2 separate regions of the Homo sapiens genome follow, and region 1 is linked to region 2. The links are contacts of gene promoters, found by promoter capture Hi-C in blood cells and fetal thymus (Javierre and others, 2016). All regions are on one chromosome and are shown on one strand. The core of a region is centred on a gene start or on the middle of the fragment in contact, and the rest is flanking DNA. Distances in the headings are between cores, read along the strand shown.

What was found. The method cuts DNA at HindIII sites, captures the fragments that hold promoters and counts their contacts. A CHiCAGO score of 5 or more calls a contact.
Region 1: a fragment that was not itself captured here is called in contact with the fragment with the promoter of LRRC66 in region 2 in 1 of 17 cell types (monocytes); the score reaches 5.7 in monocytes.

What each region holds. Positions count from the first base shown.
Region 1 is chr4:51,914,873-51,919,929 of GRCh38, forward strand. DCUN1D4 (defective in cullin neddylation 1 domain containing 4) reads left to right here. Exons shown (of 11, transcript NM_001040402.3): 11 at 1-1,965. Among named protein-coding and RNA genes, the nearest start is that of DCUN1D4, 74 kb to the left of the region's middle. The HindIII fragment of the contact is 939 bases long and covers 2,724-3,662 here.
Region 2 is chr4:52,017,208-52,021,969 of GRCh38, forward strand. LRRC66 (leucine rich repeat containing 66) reads right to left here and starts at 3,156. Exons shown (of 5, transcript NM_001024611.3): 1 at 3,097-3,156; 2 at 1-411. The coding sequence starts at 406. It overlaps SGCB (sarcoglycan beta), which reads right to left. Exons shown (of 6, transcript NM_000232.5): 6 at 3,499-4,762. The HindIII fragment of the contact is 6,788 bases long and covers 1-4,542 here.

The sequences.
Region 1 (5,057 bases), core at 1,943-4,442, 100 kb before region 2:
GTTTTCACCCCAACTATCTGGTGCTATTGAATGACTAATTCAGTCCCTAAAGTTCTGTGAAAACACAAAAGTCTAATGATTTGAGTGAGTAAAAGGTAATGGTGCATTTGAACAAGTAAATGCTGTCGTGGTCAGCAAGATCCGTGATTTGAACATGTGATGACTGGAAAAAGGTTTGGGTTATTTGGAACTCTGGCTAAAACTTCTTTCGGGTGACATGTGATCGTTTAAATGGCATTAAGTGAATAAAGCACACAGACAGTGCTACTCTTGACCACTATTTTACCATTTCTTTGCAAACAGTGTTCACATTTTCATATTTTTTCCCTAACTAAACCACCAAAGAAAGAAATTTTGTATGTATATACAGTGTGTGTGTATACAAAATCATGATATAGTAGAATGCAACTACTTTCTTTTTCTACCAAACGAAAGGTTTTATTTGCTGTGAAATAAACCAGAAGTTTAAAAAACCCTGTAGTGATTAAGCATACTTAACCACTCCTTATTTGTAGATTCACTTTCAACCTTAAAAATTAATACCAGTTTGCATAAACCAATATCTGAAAAGAACAGGAAATGTTAATGGCAAGCAACAGCTATTAATACTGATGTGATGGATGCATTTGTTTTGCAGTGGTGACTGGCCTAGGCAGGTTTGGATCTGTGAAGAATTGATTCATTTTCAAAATTATTCCATAAAGTTAAAAAGTTACACTTTAAAGGCAACAGGTCATACAGTTCTTTAAATCTGATCAACTGTAGCTTTATTTAAAGCAAATATAAATCATAGATGAAGTTATTTTAAACACTATGTTAGAATATAGAGATTTTTAAAAAATGCTGATAAGCACAGTTAATTCTAAAATGAGAGGATTGTTACAGGAGGGAGATGTTACAGTTAATCCACAATCAACATTTTGATGGTAGGGAAAAAACTGCGTAAAAACTATTGCATTATGTATGATAAGAAAGTAAGTATTCCAAAGGGATAATCTTGCATATTAAGAAAACTCCAAATAATCTTTAAACTGCCTTGAAAAATAAACCTCTTTGACTGCTGAGCGGCAGAGTGCTTACCCTTGATTGTCTTGATTTTATATATTTATTTCTAAGGGGAGAAAAAGGGGTCAGACAGAGTAATATGATACATTTTCTTAAAAACTTCTCTAAGTTGCACAAAACTGAACAATCATCAAGCACTTATTTACTGGCTAATGTTGAATAAATTAGGGTGCCTTCATCTGGGTTTTCTTTAGTACCTAAGTCTACAACCCTTTCTCTTTTTCTATTGTGTTTCGAACTCCACATTGCAATACTCTGTTGTCATGGAATACAACCTTTAGATGTTTACTGCTGAAGTAGGTCAGAAATTGTATTATTTGATTTGCCTCAAACATCCACTGTAATGTTACATGCACCTTTTTTGAAGCATGAACTCTGAATTATGTTTTTATAAATCTGACTAGGCAAACCTAGATTCTGGTTTCACAATGGATTTATTTTCTCTCTCAGTCTCCATTTTAACAGTGCTTTTGAAGTTTATACAGAAAGCTTTAAAAGTTAGTTTGTGCCCTTGGTTTTTATTCTTAAAACTGCTAAAATACCTCTGTAAGCCTTATCCTTTATTCTTTCATATGTTGTATAATAAATGTATAGATTTCATTGACCAACTAAAATGTTGGGTGTCTGTAAATGAGACCAAAACGTGGGTTGCTTTTTTCATAAAATAATTTCTATTGGGGGTTACTGTTCAATGACAGCAGGTAACCTATAACTGTGAATGCTTCGTGTCGTCAGTATTTGCATTACATTCATAAAAGTGTGCAAGTCCTGTGACTCCCAGCTTAACTGAAATACTGTTATGCCACCTAACTTGAGTACAGCAAACTGGTTTTAGGTTTCAATGACATTGATGTAAAATGATATCCCATGAATAAAAAGTATTTGTGTTTGGTTTCAGAACAGATGTGTAAATTTTTTCTTCTCTCTTCTGGCTTTCATTTCAAAAACCATTTAAGGTAGTCTTTAAAGCATTTTTTATCCTTTTTTGTTTGTTTTTTTTCCAACTTCTTCTATTGAAAATTTCCAAAGCTACAATAATATAATGAACAACTGTGTACCTGTCACTTAGATTTTCCAGTTGTTAACATTTTACTGTATTTCCTGCCTTACTCTTGGGCTATACGTGTGTGTACTTCTCACATTCTGTAAATAGATTCTGAGAGTAAATTACATTATGACACATCACACCTGTTAATTTGGAATAAGGGCATTCACCTATAACCATGATAAAATGATCACACTCAAGAAGTTTAATGGTGGTACTATACTATAATAAACAGTGCAGATTTAAGTATCTCCATTTGTGCCAGTCATGTTCTTGATAGCTATTATCTTTTTAATCCAGGGATAAGCATTGTATTTAGTTGTTACGCCTCTTTAGTCTCTTTTAATCTAGAACACTTTCAGATACAGTATTTTAAATGTTTTGATTAAAGATAGTGCAGTCACTCCTCAGCCAAATAGTGATTTTAAAAAAACCCACCATGTTTTGTGTATTTCTACACATTGAGCTAAAGAATTAAGTACATAATGTGGGCCACAAGCTAGGCAGGAATGACCACTTTACTACCCTCAAGGCTGCCACGCAATTAGTCTATAAGTGTGTGTTAGCCCTGGCTACCCCTTTCTAAAATTGTCTTACACTATACTAGAATGTAAGCTTTCTGAGGGCAGGACCTCTGGCACGTAGTGGATGGCCAGAAAATGGAAGGAAGCAGGTAACAGAATTTCCTCTCTGGGCAAAGAATTGTCAGGACCTAAGAAACATGTAAAGATTAGAAAATCCAAGAATAAATCGAGGAAGACTTTTGATTTTTATACGCTTGAAAGCAAGAGAGAGGAAGTAGAAAATAAGATTCCTTAGAATCCAGGTGCACGCTGTTAAAATTGTCAATGTGGATGATTCTTTAAACCATAATTTGGGCCAAAAGCTGAGCATCACACCAAGAAAATATCTCTGCTTCTAGACATCAAGAAAGAGAGGTGGAGATAAAGGAAAAAACTTAATCCCGAATTGATAGGAGTGAGAGACAACAAACCTTAGGACAGGGAATTCTTAACTTGTGGCAGAGCAAACAGTAGAAACTCATGAGACGTGTTATCCAATAATAGAAAATAGGAACATGAGATTTATTCCACTAGACAGTACTAGGACTCTACATGTAAACTCATGGGAATTGAAATAAAGTTCTCTGCTGTAATTGGAGCAAGATAGACTGAGGAGAGAGTAAACCACGAATGCTGGCTCAAGACAAAAAACCTAGCAGAGGTGCATTGCAGACATACCCATGAAGGAAAAACTTACACAAGGTCACCCTAAAGGAAGGACATTGTTAAGCCCTTTGAAATAATGGGGTGGAGAGGAAAATGAACTGAAAAAATGAAAAACACCCACAGGAAGAAATCAAAGACGATTGTGTCAACCCCAGGGCTACAGAAGTGAGGAATAAAATTGGCTATTTCCGGACACTGACTTTCTTGATTTGTTGAACATACGTGAAAGCAGGACATGCCATGGTCGCTGGTTGCATCAAATAGAAATGACTCATTGGAATGTTACCTCCAAATCCTTACATGAAGAGTAAGCAAAAGATGAAAGCTTTTATGATTCCTTTAGAAAAGAATTGCTTTTGGGACTTTATCATAGCTAGAAAAAAAAAAAATATATCAAGCGAAGAAATAACACATCAAGCTTTCTGGCCCGGTAAGGCAGAAGGTAATTCAAAATCGGGCATGTTCACCACTTTTGGCACATTCAGCAGAAAAATGTTTAGTTTTTTCTCTGCCAGAATTTGTTCCTAGCATTTATTTCCAATTGCCTTAACGAAAATAAAATCATCCCATGTATAGAAGTACTTGCTTAGAAATCATGGTGAATTAGTACGTAGGCTATGCTGAGAATAATAATTGGAAACTGAAAAACAAAGATTGACTATAGTAATTAAATGGAAACTTTAAAAACCATCATTTAAAATGTAAATCTCTTCTCCAATAAGTGTATTCGGTCCTTTGAAAGAAACTCCTTTGCAATCACTCTCTGAAAAATATAGATTGTAAAGAATCCTGGCTGTGAGAAAGGAAGCTGAAAAGGGTTTGTTTTTCCCTCTGACACTTTCCAGCAGAGACATCTCAGAATTGCCTAAGTGTGAATATCTAAAATTACAAACTAGTGTTCTCTAGAAATCTTAGGATACATGTGTGATGATAAAGAGAGCTACAGCTGTACTCATTACCAGTGAAATAACTCATGAAAAAGTTTTGGGCCAACTTTCGATAGCATGTTGAAAGCCACTGCGTTTTCTTTGTCTCTACTTGCTTATTGTTCATTTTTGCTTCATTACCTATGGTGGCTTCTCTGTATCCCATAGTGAGAGTAGGGCCTGGACAAGGTTTGTAATCCTATCACACTTCCAAAATTATTGAATAAAATAATAGATGCCTTCTAGCAACCTGTTCCATGTGTCTGTGTTCTGTGTGTCTCAAAGTGCTCATAAATCCTTCAAGTCCTTATTTTGCCTACATCAGGGTTGATTTTCAGATTCTCAATATAATCATTGTATCAACAAACTTTAATTGTGTGTTAGGCCGAATTCCTATGTGAAATTGGTAACACAGGCATTAAAGTTTACAAGAGTGCATAGAGGAAACTGGAATAATAGAAAATCAACAGACTAAAGAATTAGGAAAGACCTATGAATGGGAGGCCTATGCCCACTGAGTGTCAGTGCCTTCAGACACTTAGCAATGGTAGACCAGAAACACACCAACTGGGTTAGAGCTGAGAGTTCCTTTTGGAGAGTAAGGTACAATAGGAAGAGATCAGGAATCGGTGTAGGGCTCTCCTTAGATGCCACAGTGCACACTCATGGATCTGGTTTTGATAGTTGATGCTCCAGCACCTGAATGGGTCAGCAAGCTCTAATGGGTTTTAGAGATGTAGTCAAGAAGGCCAGTTGGTTGCTTATTGATATCATTTAGCTCCTTTGAGAAAA
Region 2 (4,762 bases), core at 1,906-4,405:
CCCATGAGGACTTAGGACTGAGTAGATCCAATGAGAGGGAGTGGATGGCATTGTTGCTGAGGTTTAACACTTCCAAAGCATGTAAATATGCAAAAGGGCTTAAGGTTATTTTTGATATGAGATTGTTACTGAGGTCCAGATGTTTTATTTTCCACTCTTCTTTTTTCGTGTGAGACTGTAAGAGAACTCTAAAGAAATTGAAACTTACATCCACAGTGGCTGCTGTCTGTGATATGTCCACAGGTATATCACACTTTCCGGTAAAAGAACAATTTGTCAGAATATATTCATTCCATTGGCATTCAGAATTGAATAAAATATTGCTTTTTCTTGATGCATTTGTCATTATTCCAGTAAAATAAAGACCTATAACTATGGTAATGACTCTGAAATAGAGGTTTTTCATAATGCCTGGAAAAAGGAAAATGAATTGACTTATTCACAATAATATATAAAAACTAACAGCAATAAGCAGCAAATTTAATTTTCAATTTAAGATTTCGGAAAGTTATCTTGTCTTGGTTGCCAATTTAAGCGAATGTTTGATTTCTTACTGGGGCATGAAAATGTAGCTACCAAAATGAAATAGCCATAGTATAAAATTACATTTATGTCACATTTTAAAGAAAGGACTCCCCTGATTTTTCAGAAAATACATATTCAGTTAGGCCTCACCTCTGCATCTGCTTTTCCAGTAGTTTTCACTCCACAGTGTGCTTTGGGATGAATGAAACCTTACCAAGATTAAAGACTTCCCTGTTTCTTTGCAGGCCATTAATACAGAGCAAAGTCTATTATGCTTATCTACAACATAGTAATCAACCATGTAGTTTATTACATAAATGACAACCAGTTACACTAAACCGTGACCCTCCATAACTCTATGAGTAAAAAGTTTAACTCACAAAAGAGGCTCTTACTTTTCATGACTAGAAGAAATACAAGTTTTGCTGTGTGGCTTGTGTGACTTTTCAAATCATTATGAAATCATTTAGATACATACAACATAATGTGTTATCAAATACATGTTCTGGCTCCAAGCCATGAAGATGTAATACGATACAGAAACATTGAGTATCTTTTGTACCAAACATTTTTGAGAAAAAATTCAAAGTTTTTAAAAAGAAGTGTGTACAAATTACAATGGCTGAATGTATCACAAAAATAAGTTTAAAAATGGGTAATTTTTGTGATTTGTTTTAAACTAAATTCCACTTAAAAGCCACTGTGTGTACAAATAATCACATTATTGAGTATATGAGTTTCCAAGAAATTGTCCCTTCCTTTCTGTTCTAATGGCACTCAGTTTAGTTTTCATCACTGCAGTCTGAAATACTAAAATGGCTTAACTGACTTTCTTGCCTCTGCCTCTTGACTTTCCTTCTTTGTGATCCATCCTAGGTGACTCCAAAGGATTATTTTCCTACAATAACGTATTTCCTATATTATTCCTTCATTTGAAATCCTCAAAGGGCTCCTTATTGCCTATAGTCCAAATCCCTCAGGTTGGTATTCAAAGCCTGTGTTATCTAGGTAAACTTAATGACCTAGCTTGATAAGTTCATGTGGAGCCACTACAAGATGTGGCTTCTGCAAAGAATGATCTATGCATATCGCATACTGAAATTCACTTTCAGTTCATTCCCAGTTCCAAGTTCAATGCCTTTTCCTCTTAGCCACAGTCTTAAGATGGAGTTTCGCTCTTGTTACCCAGGCTGGAGTGCAAGAGCGCCATGTCAGCTCACCACAACCTCCGCCTCCCGGGTTCAAGCAATTCTCCTGCCTCAGCCTCCCGAGTAGCTGGGATTACAGGCATGTGCCACTACAACTCACTAATTTGTATTTTTAGTAGAGATGAGGTTTCTCCATGTTGGTCAGGCTGGTCTCGAACTCCTGACCTCAGGTGACCCGCCCACCTTGGCCTCCCAAAGTGCTGGGATTACAGGCGTGAGCCACCACACCCGGCCAGCCACAGTCTTGTGTATCCTTCCAGATTCATCTCACATCTTATGGCCTGGTCATTTTTCCTGCTTTAGCCTCCAAATTTGTCTTTATTCTTACAGAAATCTTTCAGTAAACACTGAAGGAATTGATACACATTAGTAACATTCAGCGTTGCTATTGTTTTGCTTTGTATCTGTTCTGAACTCCCAAAAAAAAAAGGAACATTATCTATCTATCTATCTATCCAATGTTTTACATTTTTAATAGTCTGCAGTCTGTCACTGGGTTATGTTGTTTGTGTGTAAATGAATGCATGGAGTGAAGTGAATGAAATTTACAATGTAACTTTAAAACTTTTGTTTCATACAAGGTCAATCCTCCCATATTTTCAAGGGCATTTAAATTCAGGTACACATGGCCATGAACAGCAAAGGTAGCCTACAGCATGGAGGAGTGATTTATTTTTACAGTGTGCTTCTTATGCAATACTAGAAATTGAATTGATTTGCCCAGGAACAAAGATATTTTTTCTACGTTCAAAGCTGAGATCATTATATATACAATGGTGCACCAAGCTAATGTAACAAAATCAGCAACAAAAAAATATAGTCACCATTCACAGGTACATTACTTTGTAGTGCTGAAGAGAAAGACATGGTTGAAAAATACTTTTTCTTAAGGGGACATGAATTAAAATTGCCCTGGTTCTTTTTAAGCTGAAGAGATTTATACATGTTAGGTTTGAGTTCAAAACAGCTAGACAAGGAATCTTATATCTTAAAGTGAAAGGTATTAATTTGTTAAAAAAATCATACTATTTATAAATTTATATGTATTAGGTAAGGAACCACTCAGAACTCCAGAAAAAGTTGCTTAGAAAACTGGAAACAATTAGGCAAAATGTAAATTTCAAAATGGAAATAGTCAAGCTGAAGTAGGAGGAAGCAGTTAGAAATACTGGGTGTGTACATTTGTGAGTCAGCAAGTGAAAGATAGGAAGAAGGCAGCACAAAAAAACAAAGTATTATAGAAAGGAAATGAAGAGTTCATTTATACATAAAAGAAAGGGTGGCAAAACTGAAGGAAAAAAGCAACAGAGGCTATTTCGGGTAAGGACAAGACCTGGAAAGTAATAATGCCTCTAAGACATACCTTCGTATCCTAAGTGGTTATCAAATGGGTGGATATCTGGATCAAGCCAGGTAGGGATTTAAGACCTGAACCTTTGAGGCTCCACCCAACCTGCCATCAAGGCTGCCCAGTGGCCAGCCCTCACCCTTTCATCTCCGGCTTTGGCCTCCTGCCATGGTGACAGTGTGCACTTTCCCCTAGGACACCAGGGAAGCACCACTGGAGAGAGGCCTTCTGCAATGCACAGAGAGGAGGGCATTCAAAACTTGGAATGTACAACTTTCTAACTTTGAGTTCTAGGAGTCCAGAGAGATTACATAAATACTGACAGCGTCCCATTCTCAAGCCATATTTAAATTCATCACGTTCGCATGACTAAGTAGAAAACAGTTAATATATAACCCTTAAAAAATTAACAGCAAACAATTTACAGAATTTTTATTGTAAACAGAAGCTCATTACTAGTTATTACAAACTGAATCAACTGAAACTCAAGTTAGCAATGTGAAACACATTTATAGGCTTATTTTTGTATACCATAATTGGTAATTTTTGCCCCCTCAATACTTTTAAGAAGACTGTTAAAATTTTCAGCATTTCAATGATCTCTTATTTGTCAGGTTTAGCACCATGACATTCTCATTCCCTTAAAAAAACACTCATTCAAATCTAGGTAGAACTTCCACCTTTCATCATCAAAATTATCACACAAAATTTATTTTGTTTTTTTCACAATGCAAAAAGAAGACAAATAAGTATATTTTAAAATATTATCAGCAGTCCGTTTTGTGTGGTTTTACATTTTTCTGTCTGCCCATTATTAAGAAATCTTGCATTGATTTCATTTGCCCCCCTTGTCATTGCAACCCGTCTCTAGAATACTGTGGTAATTGAAACTAGCATGTACCTGCGCCCCCTCCCGGGGTCCTATCTTTGTCACCCACCTCCCCCATGGCTACTGCTTGTCATATCTGTGCTCAGTGCAGGGATGAGCATACAGCAGGAAGAGGCGAAGTCAGCATTTCATTTACAGAAAAATACTATCTGGTGGAGACAATGAGTTGCTGAAGATTTACTGTGGATAAAAATAAGCCGGCCAGGCGTGGTGGCTCACACCTGTAATCCCAGCACTTTGGGAGGCCAAGGCAGGCAGATCACGAGGTCAAGAGATTGAGACCATCCTGGCCAACATGGTGAAACCCCGTCTCTACTAAAAATACAAAAATTAGCCGGGAACTGTGGCACATGCCTGTAGTCCCAGGTACTCGGGAGGCTGAGGCAGGAGAATCGCTTGAACCTGGGAGGCAGAGGTTGCAGTGAGCCGAGAGCCGAGATTGTGCCACTGCACTCCAGCCTGGCGACAGAACAAGACTCTGTCTCAAAAAAATAAATTAATTAATTAAAAATTAGAAAAGCCATAAGTAAAATGGAGAGTTTGCCCTGTTCTGCTTTCTAATAGATTTTCCAAGCTTATGTTTCAGGGAAAAAGCCAGGACTACCTGTAAAGTATCATAAAATGCTATGGCTGTTAACCTTCAGTTGTATAAAAACATCAAAATAGCCTCTCCTCTCAAAAGAACTTCATGGAGATGTATCAAAAACACAAGTATTTCCCAAAAAAGAGTAAAAATAGATTATTTCCTGAACTACATTTAATAAATAATATTTTGTAATACAGTGTTTTCTG